2 separate regions of the Homo sapiens genome follow, and region 2 is linked to region 1. Evidence: promoter capture Hi-C in 16 types of primary human blood cells and fetal thymus (Javierre and others, 2016). All regions are on one chromosome and are shown on one strand. Each heading gives the region's core, a stretch centred on a gene start or on the middle of the fragment in contact. The rest is flanking DNA. Distances are from core to core; before and after follow the strand shown.

Region 1 (5,850 bases), core at 416-2,915:
GTAGTTCCTGCTGGCCCTAGTTTGGCACTCTCTCGTAACCAGTTGGCAGGTGGGAGTTTCAAGTCTGTTTTCTCTTCAAGGCGTGCAAATGCTGTTCGAGGAGGGGCAGAAGAGTATTTCACCACAGCTCGGCTCTTCACTTCATTGCCTCCAAGAAATAAAGCTGATCCCTAATTAACACATTGGGTGAAACTTTAATGAAAATTACTAAGAACGAAAAATCTCACCTTTATAAAAAGAAAACAAGAACCTGTCACACCAGGCTTCACAAGGAACGTATGCCACATGTTACTAACAGCACTTAATAAATTTGAGCATAAATGGTAACATTTACTTAGTTCTTTTACACCAACTTCAAAGAAAAAAGATGAGTCAAGGAGTATGATGGTTATGGTTATCAGCTAGAAAATGGACCACCCACATCTCTTTTAAAATGTATTCATGTAAAGTGGAGAAGCAGAAACCAAGGAGACTCAATGGTATCATGTTAACTAGATGCAAACTTTAGTAAAGCCTATTTTCAGTATTAAAGATGTATTTTAATTCTTTTTTTTTTTTTTTTTGAGACGCAGTCTTGCTTTGTCGCCCAGGCTAGGGTGCAGTGGAGCAATCATGGCTCACTGCAACCTCGGCTTCTGGGGTTTACGCCATTCTCCTGCCTCAGCCTCCCTAGTAGCTGGAATTACAGGCGTGCACTACCACGTCCGGCTAATTTTTGTATTTTTAGTAGAGACAGGGTTTTGCCATGTTGGCCAGGCTGGTCTCGAACTCCCCGACCTCAGGTGATCCACCCACCTCGGCCTCCCAAAGTGCTAGGATTACAGGCGTGAGCCACCGCGCCCGGCCAAAGATGTATTTTAATTTTAATAACACATCATTCATAAAATAGTCTGGTAGAACATTTGGGCTTTTTGTTTTAATGCAAATATTTAGTAATCGATGCATCGGTTCATGCATGCATGCATGGTTCAAATACTCTTGAGTCTCTAACTTCATAGAAAGGCATTGGGGGTTCGTTCCTCACAGCCTGCACTTGCACACTCCCAAAGCAAGTTCGGCGTCTGGGTTCAATATTCTAACCTTTCACGCAGTACCTCTTCTGCATGGCAAACATTTTACACCCTTTGTGAATTAGTTCGGTCTCATTCTCGGCGAGTCACTACCTGGCACCGTTTCTTCCCTCCTGCTTTGCACGACTGTGCCACGTTTTGGAACGACATATTTACATGTACCCTCCTTGAGAGGAAAGATCGTATCTAATTCACCTGTCGGCTACCAGAACTGCTTTTAATACGAATACCTGCCGACTGGAGCATGGACTTCAACTCCCTGTTTTGGGGGTGTCAGGGAAACATGGAGAAGCCTCCAGAATCTGCCGGGAACCGTGGCATCCCTCCCCGGTGGAGCGGGTCCTCCGCTCCCACATCCCTGGCAGGTCCCCCTCCGCGGAGGACTCACCTGTGCAGAAGATTCCTCGGATTCTCCCTGGGACAGGAGGCTGAGCCCTCCTCGAGCGGCGGCCCCGGCCGGCGGACCCTCGGCTCCGGCCTCCTTGGCATCCCCCATCACTTCGATCCAGGGCAGGCGATACGACGGGGGAGCGGAGGAGCAGCAGCAGCAACGCAGGCCCAAAGCAGGGTAAGCGCCAGAGACGCTCCGCGGACCGCACTTCCGGTCTCTGCCAGGAAGAAGTAGCTGTGACTCGCCATTAAATCTCGCGATCTTTGTCCCGAAGGCCCGGCCCCGCCTCCCGCTGCGGGTGCCACCTTCGCGGCCAGGGCGGGAATTGTAGTGCGCCTGCGCTTGTCCGAACCTCTTCGGGAGACTACTTCTCGCGGTATCTGACTCCTAGGCTCCGCCCTCTGCACGCCGCTCACGGTATCTGACGCTCAGGCTCCGCCCCCTGCATGTCTTTGTTGGCAAACAGTTCTGGGGGTCGTCCGATCCTGCAGGTAGTGTCCGCGTGGGAGGGGAGGTGCAGCCGTCAGCGCTGCCGGCGGCTCCCGTTACGTGAATTAGTGAGAGGTTCAAACTTCTTCCCCAGGCTTCAGTGTCACATCTTTTCACACGGGCACCCCGAGGGCCCGGACTGGAAAGGCGAGCCAGCCATCTCGAGACTGGGCGCTCCTGCCCGCCTTTTAGTGCCCATGTGGCCCCATCCTGGGTGTGGGAGCGGCGGGGCTTCCGGGGAGGGCGCTGGGACGCGCGGACGAGGCCCTCCCCGTTTAGGGAATGGGTGGCTTTCGGAGTCTTCTGGGGGCCCGGCATGCCCGCTGCTTGCGGGGCGTCCCAGGTGGTGCAGGACCCGTGAGACGCTGAACCTGGGGCCTCGTAACGCCTAGGTTTCCATTCGGGCGCTCTGGATGGGTCCGAGACTCGGCATTTCTCACAGGTTCCCAGGAAACGATGCCAGCGCTTTGAGTAGCGAAGAGGTGGAGAAATAGCCCGGGCCGTTTGCAAGCTTTGAAGGTCCAGGCTCTCTTTCACACTCCTCAGTGTCATCTCAAACTGTCAAACGCAGCCACATCCGTTATACAATACATGTTTTGTAGTAAAAGTGTTTTGTTGTGCCGTAAGATACAGAAAGTGTTTTTAAAAATTAACTTGGCTCTTGCAATTTGGCTGTCTCAATTTGTAATTCACGTTTGGCTCTTACAACTCACTGTCCTGTCCGTTTTCAGGAATGCTCCTGATGAGTAAGCATTCAACTCACAAATTGCTTTCAAATGTAACAAAACAATTTTATGAATTAAATTTAACAGGCCGGGCGCGGTGGCTCACGCCTTTAATCCCTGCACTTTGGGAGGCCGAGGTGGGCAGATTGCCTGAGGTCAGGAGATCGAGACCAGCCTGACGAACAGGGTGAAACCCCATCTCTACTAAAAATACAAAAATTAGCCAGATGTGGTGGTGGGCGCCTGTAATCCCAGCTACTAGGGAGGCTGAGGCAGGAGAATCGCTTGAACCTGGGAGGCAGAGGTTGCAGTGAGCAGAGATGGCAACACTGCGCTCCAGCCTGGGCGATAGTGAGACTCTGTCTTAAAAAAATAATAATAGTGAATTAAATTTAACAGTTAATTTGATATAATAGTGTATTTTGTAGACATTTACTTCAACATGTATTGATTTTGATTTTTATCATTTCATTTGAATATTGCAGCCAATAATTCTTTTTTGGTTTTTGCAAGTTATGCATTGTTTTTTATGGTGAAAAGTTGAACATAATATCTAACACTAGGAGGAGGATAGTCAAATTTGGTTTTGGTAGAAAATAAACCCTGTGCAACCATAAACTTGTTTTTCAGGAATATTTAAGAACATTTAAATTGCATATCATATAATGTTAAGTGATAAGTGAAATTTTAAAAAGCCAATATGCAGCCTAGCGCGGTGGCTCACGCCTGTAATCCCAGCACTTTGGGAGGCAGATGCGGGTGGATCACGAGGTCAGGAGATCGAGACCATCCTGGCTAACACGGTGAAACCCCGTCTCTACTAAAAATACAAAAACAAAATTAGCCAGGTTTGGTGGCAGGCACCTGTAGTCCCAGCTACTCAGGAGCCTGAGGCGGGAGAATGGTGTGAACCCAGGAGACGGAGCTGGCAGTGAGCCGAGATTGCACCACTGCACTCCAGCCTGGGCAGCAGAGCGAGACTCCGTATAAAAAAAAAAAAGCCAATGTGCAATATGATCTTAATTTTAAAAACGTCTCCATTTCTGTCTCTGTGTCCACAAAACAGACCTCTGAGCCGTAAAATGAAGTGATTTAAAATTTATTCTTTACATTTATTGATTTGCATATATTGAACTAGCCTTGCATCCCAGGGATGAAGCCCACTTGATCATGGTGGATAAGCTTTTTGATGTGCTGCTGGATTCGGTTTGCCAGTATTTTATTGAGGATTTTTGCATCAATGTTCATCAAGGATATTGGTCTAAAATTCTCTTTTTTGGTTGTGCCTCTGCCCGGCTCTGGTATCAGGATGATGCTGGCCTCATAAAATGAGTTGGGAGGATTCCCTCTTTTTCTATTGATTGGAATAGTTTCAGAAGGAATGGTACCAGTTCTTCCTTGTACCTCTGGTAGAATTCGGCTGTGAATCCATCTGGTCCTGGACTCTTTTTGGTTGGTAAGCTATTGATTATTGCCACAATTTCAGAGCCTGTTATAGGTCTATTCAGAGATTCAACTTCTTCCTAGTTTAGTCTTGGGAGGGTGTATGTGTCGAGGAATTTATCCATTTCTTCTAGATTTTCTAGTTTATTTGCATAGAGGTGTTTGTAGTATTCTCTGATGGTAGTTTGTATTTCTGTGGGATCGGTGGTGATATCCCCTTTATCATTTTTTATTGCATCTATTTGATTCTTCTCTCTTTTCTTCTTTATTAGTCTTGCTAGCAGTCTATCAGTTTTGTTGGTCCTTTCAAAAAACCAGCTCCTGGATTCATTAATTTTTTGAAGGGTTTTTTGTGTCTCTATTTCCTTCTGTTCTGCTCTGATTTTAGTTATTTAAACAGAACCAAAGACAAAAACCACATGATTATCTCAATAGATGCAGAAAAGTCCTTTGACAAAATTCAACAACTCTTCATGCTAAAAACTCTCAATAAATTAGGTATTGATGGGCTGTATCTCAAAATAATAAGAGCTATCTATGACAAACCCACAGCCAATATCATACTGAATGGGCAAAAACTGGAAGCATTCCCTTTGAAAACTGGCACAAGACAGGGATGCCCTCTCTCACCACTCCTATTCAACATAGTGTTGGAAGTTCTGGCCAGGGCAATTAGTCAGGAGAAGGAAATAAAGGGTATTTAATTAGGAAAAGAGGAAGTCAAATTGTCCCTGTTTGCAGATGACATGATTGTATATCTAGAAAACCCCATTGTCTCAGCCCCAAATCTCCTTAAGCTGATAAGCAACTTCAGCAAAGTCTCAGGATACAAAATCAATGTACAAAAATCACAAGCATTCTTGTACACCAATAACAGACAAATAGAGAGCCAAATCATGAGTGAACTCCCATTCACAATTGCTTCAAAGAGAATAAAATACCTAGGAATCCAACTTACAAGGGACGTGAAGGACCTCTTCAAGGAGAACTACAAACCACTGCTCAATGAAATAAAAGAGGATACAAAGAAATGGAAGAACATTCCATGCTCATGGGTAGGAAGAATCAATATCGTGAAAATGGCCATACTGCCCAAGGTAATTTACAGATTCAATGCCATCCCCATCAAGCTACCAATGACTTTCTTCACAGAATTGGAAAAAACTACTTTGAAGTTCATATGGAACCAAAAAAGAGCCCGCATTGCCAAGTCAATCCTAAGCCAAAAGAACAAAGCCGGAGGCATCACACTTCCTGACTTCAAACTATATTACAAGGTTACAGTAACCAAAACAGCATGGTGGTACCAAAATAGAGATATAGATCAATGGAACAGAACAGAGCCCTCAGAAATAACGCCGCATATCTACAGCTATCTGATCTTTGACAAACCTGAGAAAAACAAGCAATGGGTAAAGGATTCCCTATTTAATAAATGGTGCTGGGAAAACTGGCTAGCCATATGTAGAAAGCTGAAACTGGATCCCTGCCTTACACCTTATACAAAAATCAATTCAAGATGGATTAAAGACTTAAAACGTTAGACCTAAAACCATAAAAACCCTAGGAGAAAACCTAGGCATTACCATTCAGGACATAGGCATGGGCAAGGACTTCATGTCTAAAACACCAAAAGCAATGGCAGCAAAAGCCAAAATTGACAAATGGGATCTAATTAAGCTAAAGAGCTTCTGCACAGCAAAAGAAACTACCATCAGAGGGAACAGGCAAC
Region 2 (5,851 bases), core at 1,164-3,663, 2.3 Mb before region 1:
GCTAAGAAGCTGGAGAAGGGTGAAGGGGCCGGTGTCCACTGCAGGGTCCTAGGACAGCGCGGGAGGCTGACTCGGCGTAGCTCAGCTCTTAGGGCCCCTTGGGCTTGGGCAGGAGCTCAGGCACAGGGAGGCGGCCTGGCCCTGGGGCTGGGCAGAGGCCTGTGGCCCTGGCGCACTGTGACCCCACCTTTCAGAGCCTCCAGGTCCCGATTCCACCTGTCAGAGGCCGAGTGCCCAGCCACCACCGGCCTCTTACTGTGTCCTTTGTACCTGACAGGTTGACCTTCCTCACCCAGAAAGAGACCCACAGCCCCAGGCCCAGCTAAGTGGCTTTGTTGCTGCTCAGGACCCACCCCTGGCTCATCAGCCCAAATTCCAAGGGACACTGGTGGCCTCGCTGCCACCTTTGGACCCCACCCACTCTCCCAACGTCGCACTTTGTTCCTGCTCCTCCCCCGCTGGCCACACAGCCCCCTCATCACCAAAATGTTCCCACTCCTCGAGGACAATCTCAAAGGCCCCCACCTCCAAGAAGCCCACTGGACTCCTCTCTTGTGGACCCAGAGGGGCCCTGGATGCCTCAAAGCGCAAACCTCGCTCTGCCATGAGTGAACAGGCCTCAGCATGACTGCCTTGGCTCCCGGGTTTCTGGGGAAGCCCCTCGAAGGCAACGACCGGGCTTCCAACTCTTTAAGTTCCCAGAAGCACCAATCACTTGCCCTGAGCCCAGCGCAGGGTCCATGCGCTTCCTCCTGAGGGCTGGCACGGCCTCCCGAGGGTGCTCCGGGCACTGGGAGGGCTCCGCAGCCCCAGAGGCTCCGCTCACCTCACACCCCTCATCTGGATTCTAAAAGGGACCCTCATGCCTTCCGCCTTGCACCCTAGGTTATAAACTCCCCAGGGAAGGTGTGGCTTTTCCTCCCTCATCCCCTACCCTCCCAGGCCTGGCACTGACTCTGGCACCCTATGAGTGGTCCGCACCATCGTTTCTCATAAATGATGAAGTTTTAGGGACGTGGGTGACCATTAGATGTTGAAGTTCACAGAGGAAACAGCTGGTCTGTGATGCGGAGGTGGCCCCAGCCGTGAGAGAGGGCACTGTTCACCTGGCCCACCCACTAAGTGCCCACCTTCCAGGTGGGGTCCGTGCCTCCCCCATCTGGCTAGCAGTGTCAGTAGCCTGGCAGCCTGGCTGTCCTCTGCAGCCCCCACACTCAGGTGTCTGTGACCCTGGCCCAGAGGAGCTGGTTCTGGCCCCACACAAGGTTCGGTTGGTGCTAGGATGAGTGGCTGGGTGTGGCTGCCACAGTCCCCCGCCTTTGACCTCCAACCTGCCCACAGCAGAGCTTCCCTGGGGAAGTGAGCTGGCCTGAGGCTTCCACACTTGCAGCTCCAGAGAGCACCCCTCTCCACTCTGCCAGGGCCCTGGAGCAACTCCGACAGGCTGAGTGGGAAGACCCCTGACACGGAGGGAGGGGCAGCCTGGAGCCCAGCCCCACGGAGGGCCTGGCTGCTGCTCACACTCCAGACTCAGCCAGAAAGCTTGGGCCTCGGTCCCCCTCCTCCCTCTCGAATGTACCCAGGTACATCTGCCCTCATCTCCCGGGGCCCCAGGCAATGAAACTTCCCACTTCTGCATCACACAGAGGTCAGGCTCTGGGCTCAGCTTCTGCAGAGATGGTGACTACTAAGTTTAGTCCAAGCCAACTCATGGGGTCCTCTCATCAGAGAGAGACACGAGGGAGCACCTGGGCCCCACCAGCCCTCCGTGGGTCTGGCCTCCACGTTCCTGCCTGTAGTGAAGGCTGCGGTCACAGACATGGGTACTTCCATAGAAGACGGGGCTGAACCACCCAAGCCCAGAAAGGGGCCGTGCACACGGGCAGAAGGGATGGGTCACAGGGCCAGTGGCTTCCCCAGCTCTGTTCCTGGTGTTTCTTAGTAGCTACCTCTGTTCAGGAGGCCAGAGATCAGGATCAGAAACCCAATGGCCTTCAAGGGGCAGGTAAGAACATCCCTGGGTGGTGTGGGGAGGCCAGGTGGGGGCGAGAGTTGGGACTCCCCATGTCCTGCCTGCAGGGATGGCTACTTCTGAGTTCCAGCCCACTGGGGCCAAGCACAAGGGGTGCCCACAGTGCCTAGTTCTTCCCACTTTCCTAAAGAAGAAATTCATATTTTTATGTAAACATTTTCTGATTTTTAAATATTGGTAAGAAATTCAATTTAAAAACATTTTTTTTAAATGGTGTGGACCAGGAAGAAAACAAAAATATGTCCTCTGGGCACCAATGTGGTCCAGCCAGGAGTCAGGGAGTCATCTGAGAAGAAATTCCTGTCACAGTTTATTTTCATTTCATGTTATTGTGGCTCTGACGGGGTGGGACAGAGGTCAGGGTGGCCAGTCCCCAGGGTGGTCATCCTGAAGCAGCCTTCTTCCTGTATGACTGTCTAGCTATTGCCCAAAGTGAAGTGTGTGTATGTTCACACCAATTTTATACATACATACACTTGCAACTTGTGTGTGTGTGTGTTTGCTTACATAGAATCTGATCCTGAAAGTTGAAAACCTTAGGCTTGAATGTGACTTTGGAGGAGACAAAGAGAATGGCAACCTTGGCTGGAGTGTAGCCACCCAGCACCCTCTGCTCAGGAAGCTGATCCTGAGCTCTGGCCAAGAGCCGGGGTCTTCCAGGGACTACCTCAGTTCTGCCCCAGGGCACAGCTGCTCTCACTGTGTCCCCTATCTTATCTCCATCCCTCTTTTCCTCTCCCACCTTCATTCCAAGCCCTCCTTCCCCAGGGGCCCTAGAGGCGGAGCAAGTCCATACTGAAAAGATGTGGCTCACTCAAGGACAGGTGTGCAGACAATGGTTTAAGGTCCCAACTCACTCCGGCCTAAAATTTTCAATGTTCAGGAACCTGTTCTCTTTGCCAGAGTTAAACATAATTAAGATTTCAAAGCGTATCTTTCCTGACATTTTCTTCTATAAATTTACGTTCATAAATATGCAGGTTTGGGAAATAAATAGACCATACTACTCCTCTCGTTTCATCTACAGCTTCACGGACTGTAAAAAGTATCGTTATTTTAAGAACCACTAAGAAAGAAAAAAAATGATACTGATTATAATTGTGAAGTGCTACCAATTTTAAGACACGTCCCCATATAGCCACATTAAATATGAAAGAAACAGATGAAATGCACCACGGGGCAGTTCTCCAGCTTGCTTTTCTGGTACGGCTGTCTGTCTTGGAGAGTTTCCATGTCAGCCCAGATAAGCTTCCTCATTCTGTTTAATAGCTGCTTGGATTCCACTTTTTGGATAGACCAAAATAGGATGGACATTTAAGTTGTTTCCAACTTTTCTGCTATTACCTACAATTCTGCAACACACACACACACACATATATATCTTTGTGTCTCGCAAGTGTTTCTGTAGGACAGCTTCTGTGTTAGCCTGTACGCCTGTTACATTTTAACACAATTGCCAAGATGGCAGCCCCAAGTGTCCAACTTCTACATTCATCCACAGCGGAGGTCTCTAACTCCCCCAGGACACAGATGGATATCAGTCTGTGGCCTGTTAGGAACTGGGCCACACAGCAGGAGGTGAGTGGCAGGTGAGCAGGCATTATCGCCTGAGCGCCGCCCCCCGTCAGATCAGCAGCGGCATTAGATTCTTACAGGACCGTGAGCCCTATTGTGAACTGCGCATGCCAGGGATCTAGGTTGCGTGCTCCTTAAGAGAACCTGATGCCTGGTGATCTGTCACTGTCTCCCATCACCCCCAGAGGGGCCGTCTAGTTGCAGGAACACAAGCTCAGGGCTCCCACTGATTCTACATGATGGTGAGTTGTATAATTATTTCATTATATGTTACAATGTAATCATAATAGAAATAAAGTACAAAATAAATATAATGCACTTGAATCATCCCCAAACCACCCCCCACCCCAATTCCACGGAAAAACTGTCTTCCATTAAACCAGTCCCTGGTGCCACAAAGGTTGCGGAATGCTGCCCATAATGTGCGATGGAGCCAGTTTCTCTTCTCTGGGATATTTTGCCAACCCTTTGCATTTTGGTCCATCTGATAGGTAAAATGATAATGTCATTTTAACTTGCATTTCTCTAATTTCTAGAGAGTTGAGCATCTTTTCATGATTAGTGAAACATAATTAGATATTTGTATTCTACCTGGTCATATTCTCTACTCATTTTTCGACTGTGTTCTTTTACGTATTATTTTTTATAGATAACATTTTATTACATAATTTGTAAACATTTACCTTCAATTCCTTCTGTAAAAGAATTTGTCTGCATGAGTACTGAATATATTTTGTTCGATGAACAAATGAAACAGCTTCCTATTATTTTGGCACACTGTGGAAACGTGTTATCATCTGAAATGGTCCTTCATACTTCTTCCAGGGGTCAGATGAAGATTTAAAGGGCACTTCACAGGGTCAGGTTCCCCTCCACAATTCTAGGTCAAACGAGCCCGTCTGCGCCTTATAACCCGAGGCCCATTTCCCTCTTGCTCGTGGACCAGCAGCCTTGCTAAGCACGCAGAGGCCCTGGCAGAGGCTGGACCAAGGTGTGAGTTTCACATTTAGTTCTGCTCTGGGTGCTGAGGTCACATGACAGTGTCCTCCTCCTGCAAGTAACACCCCATGTCTATGGCAATATGTGAGCCCAATAATTTTGTTTTCAAATAAACTGAAAAGCCTCAGATGTGGAGTGGACGTCATCCTGCCGGTGCCCACAGTGCCACCCGAGGGACTGTCTGCAGAGCTCGGGCAGATTCTTCCCCACTGTTGCGCAAACGGATGTTCTGCCATTGTGGCTCCTGGATGTGAGGGTACATCCGGGCAGTTTGTCAGATGTTTCTACGTGGCCAGTCGATTAGCGTTGGGAAGAAAAGTCGGGATTGTGGGTTGAAATAACTCTTTGAACCACCAGTGACCTGCCCCTGAAAGGCTGGCTTGCAAAGAGGCAAGTTAATATTTGCGGGCAGCTTCTGGTCTCTCATTTTTGGGGTTTTGGATTTCTCTGAGGTTTCAACATGAAGAGGAAAAAGACAGGTGGGCGCTCAGAACTGCTCTCCTTGCTAGAGGTTCTGTCACCAGAAATCTTTACTCTTTCCTCCTCCTGGGGCCAGTGGTACATTTGCAGGACATTTGTCCAGGGTTTGCAGGACATTTGTCCAGGGTTAGGGAATCATGTGGGGCTCTTGATGTGACTTTGTTCACAAGCCCCCACCCCCACTTCCCTCTTGCTCTTTTCTGCATAAAGCCCAGACATCACAGTTCACTCGTGAACCCTTCAGCAGGCATGTCAAAAGGCAAGGACTCTTCTTTTTAAAAATAAAACTAACCATGACGCCAATATCTGACCTAAAATATTAAGAATAATTCTTTTTTTTTTTTTTTTTTTTTTTTTGAGACGTAGTCTCTGTCTGTTGCCAGGCAAGAGTGCAGTGGCACAATCTCAGCTCACTGCAACCTCCGCCTCCCAGGTTGAAGTGATTCTCCTGCCTCAGCCTCCCGAGTGGCTGGGACTACAGGCGCCCACCACCACGCCCAGCTAATTTTTGTACTTTTAGTAGAGACAGGGTTTCACCGTGTTGGCCAAGATGGTCTCAATCTCTTGACCTCGTGATCTGCCCACCTCGGCCTCCCAAAGTGCTGGGATTACAGGTATGAGCCACCGCACCCGGCCTAAGAATAATTCTTTAGTTCCTATCATTAACTGTCACATCGCCTCATCCATGTATGTTCATGGTTGGTTTTCTGCACAAGGGGATTTTGGGGGATTTTTAACCCTTTTGCACTCCTGCCTCCAGCCAAG

What was found. The method cuts DNA at HindIII sites, captures the fragments that hold promoters and counts their contacts. A CHiCAGO score of 5 or more calls a contact.
Region 2: a fragment that was not itself captured here is called in contact with the fragment with the promoter of EDRF1 in region 1 in 1 of 17 cell types (naive CD8 T cells); the score reaches 6.5 in naive CD8 T cells.

The regions. Positions count from the first base shown.
Region 1 is chr10:125,715,524-125,721,373 of GRCh38, reverse strand. EDRF1 (erythroid differentiation regulatory factor 1) reads right to left here and starts at 1,665. Exons shown (of 25, transcript NM_001202438.2): 1 at 1,459-1,665; 2 at 1-170. The coding sequence starts at 1,566. It overlaps EDRF1-DT (EDRF1 divergent transcript), which reads left to right and starts at 1,881. Exons shown (of 5, transcript NR_033847.1): 1 at 1,881-1,952. RefSeq lists enhancers at 782-1,764, 1,880-1,959, 2,440-2,549. The HindIII fragment of the contact is 5,171 bases long and covers 1-2,463 here.
Region 2 is chr10:128,041,239-128,047,089 of GRCh38, reverse strand. The region is part of intron 3 of PTPRE (protein tyrosine phosphatase receptor type E); the gene reads right to left. Among named protein-coding and RNA genes, the nearest start is that of AS-PTPRE, 18 kb to the left of the region's middle. RefSeq lists enhancers at 1,130-1,629, 1,630-2,131. The HindIII fragment of the contact is 1,738 bases long and covers 1,545-3,282 here.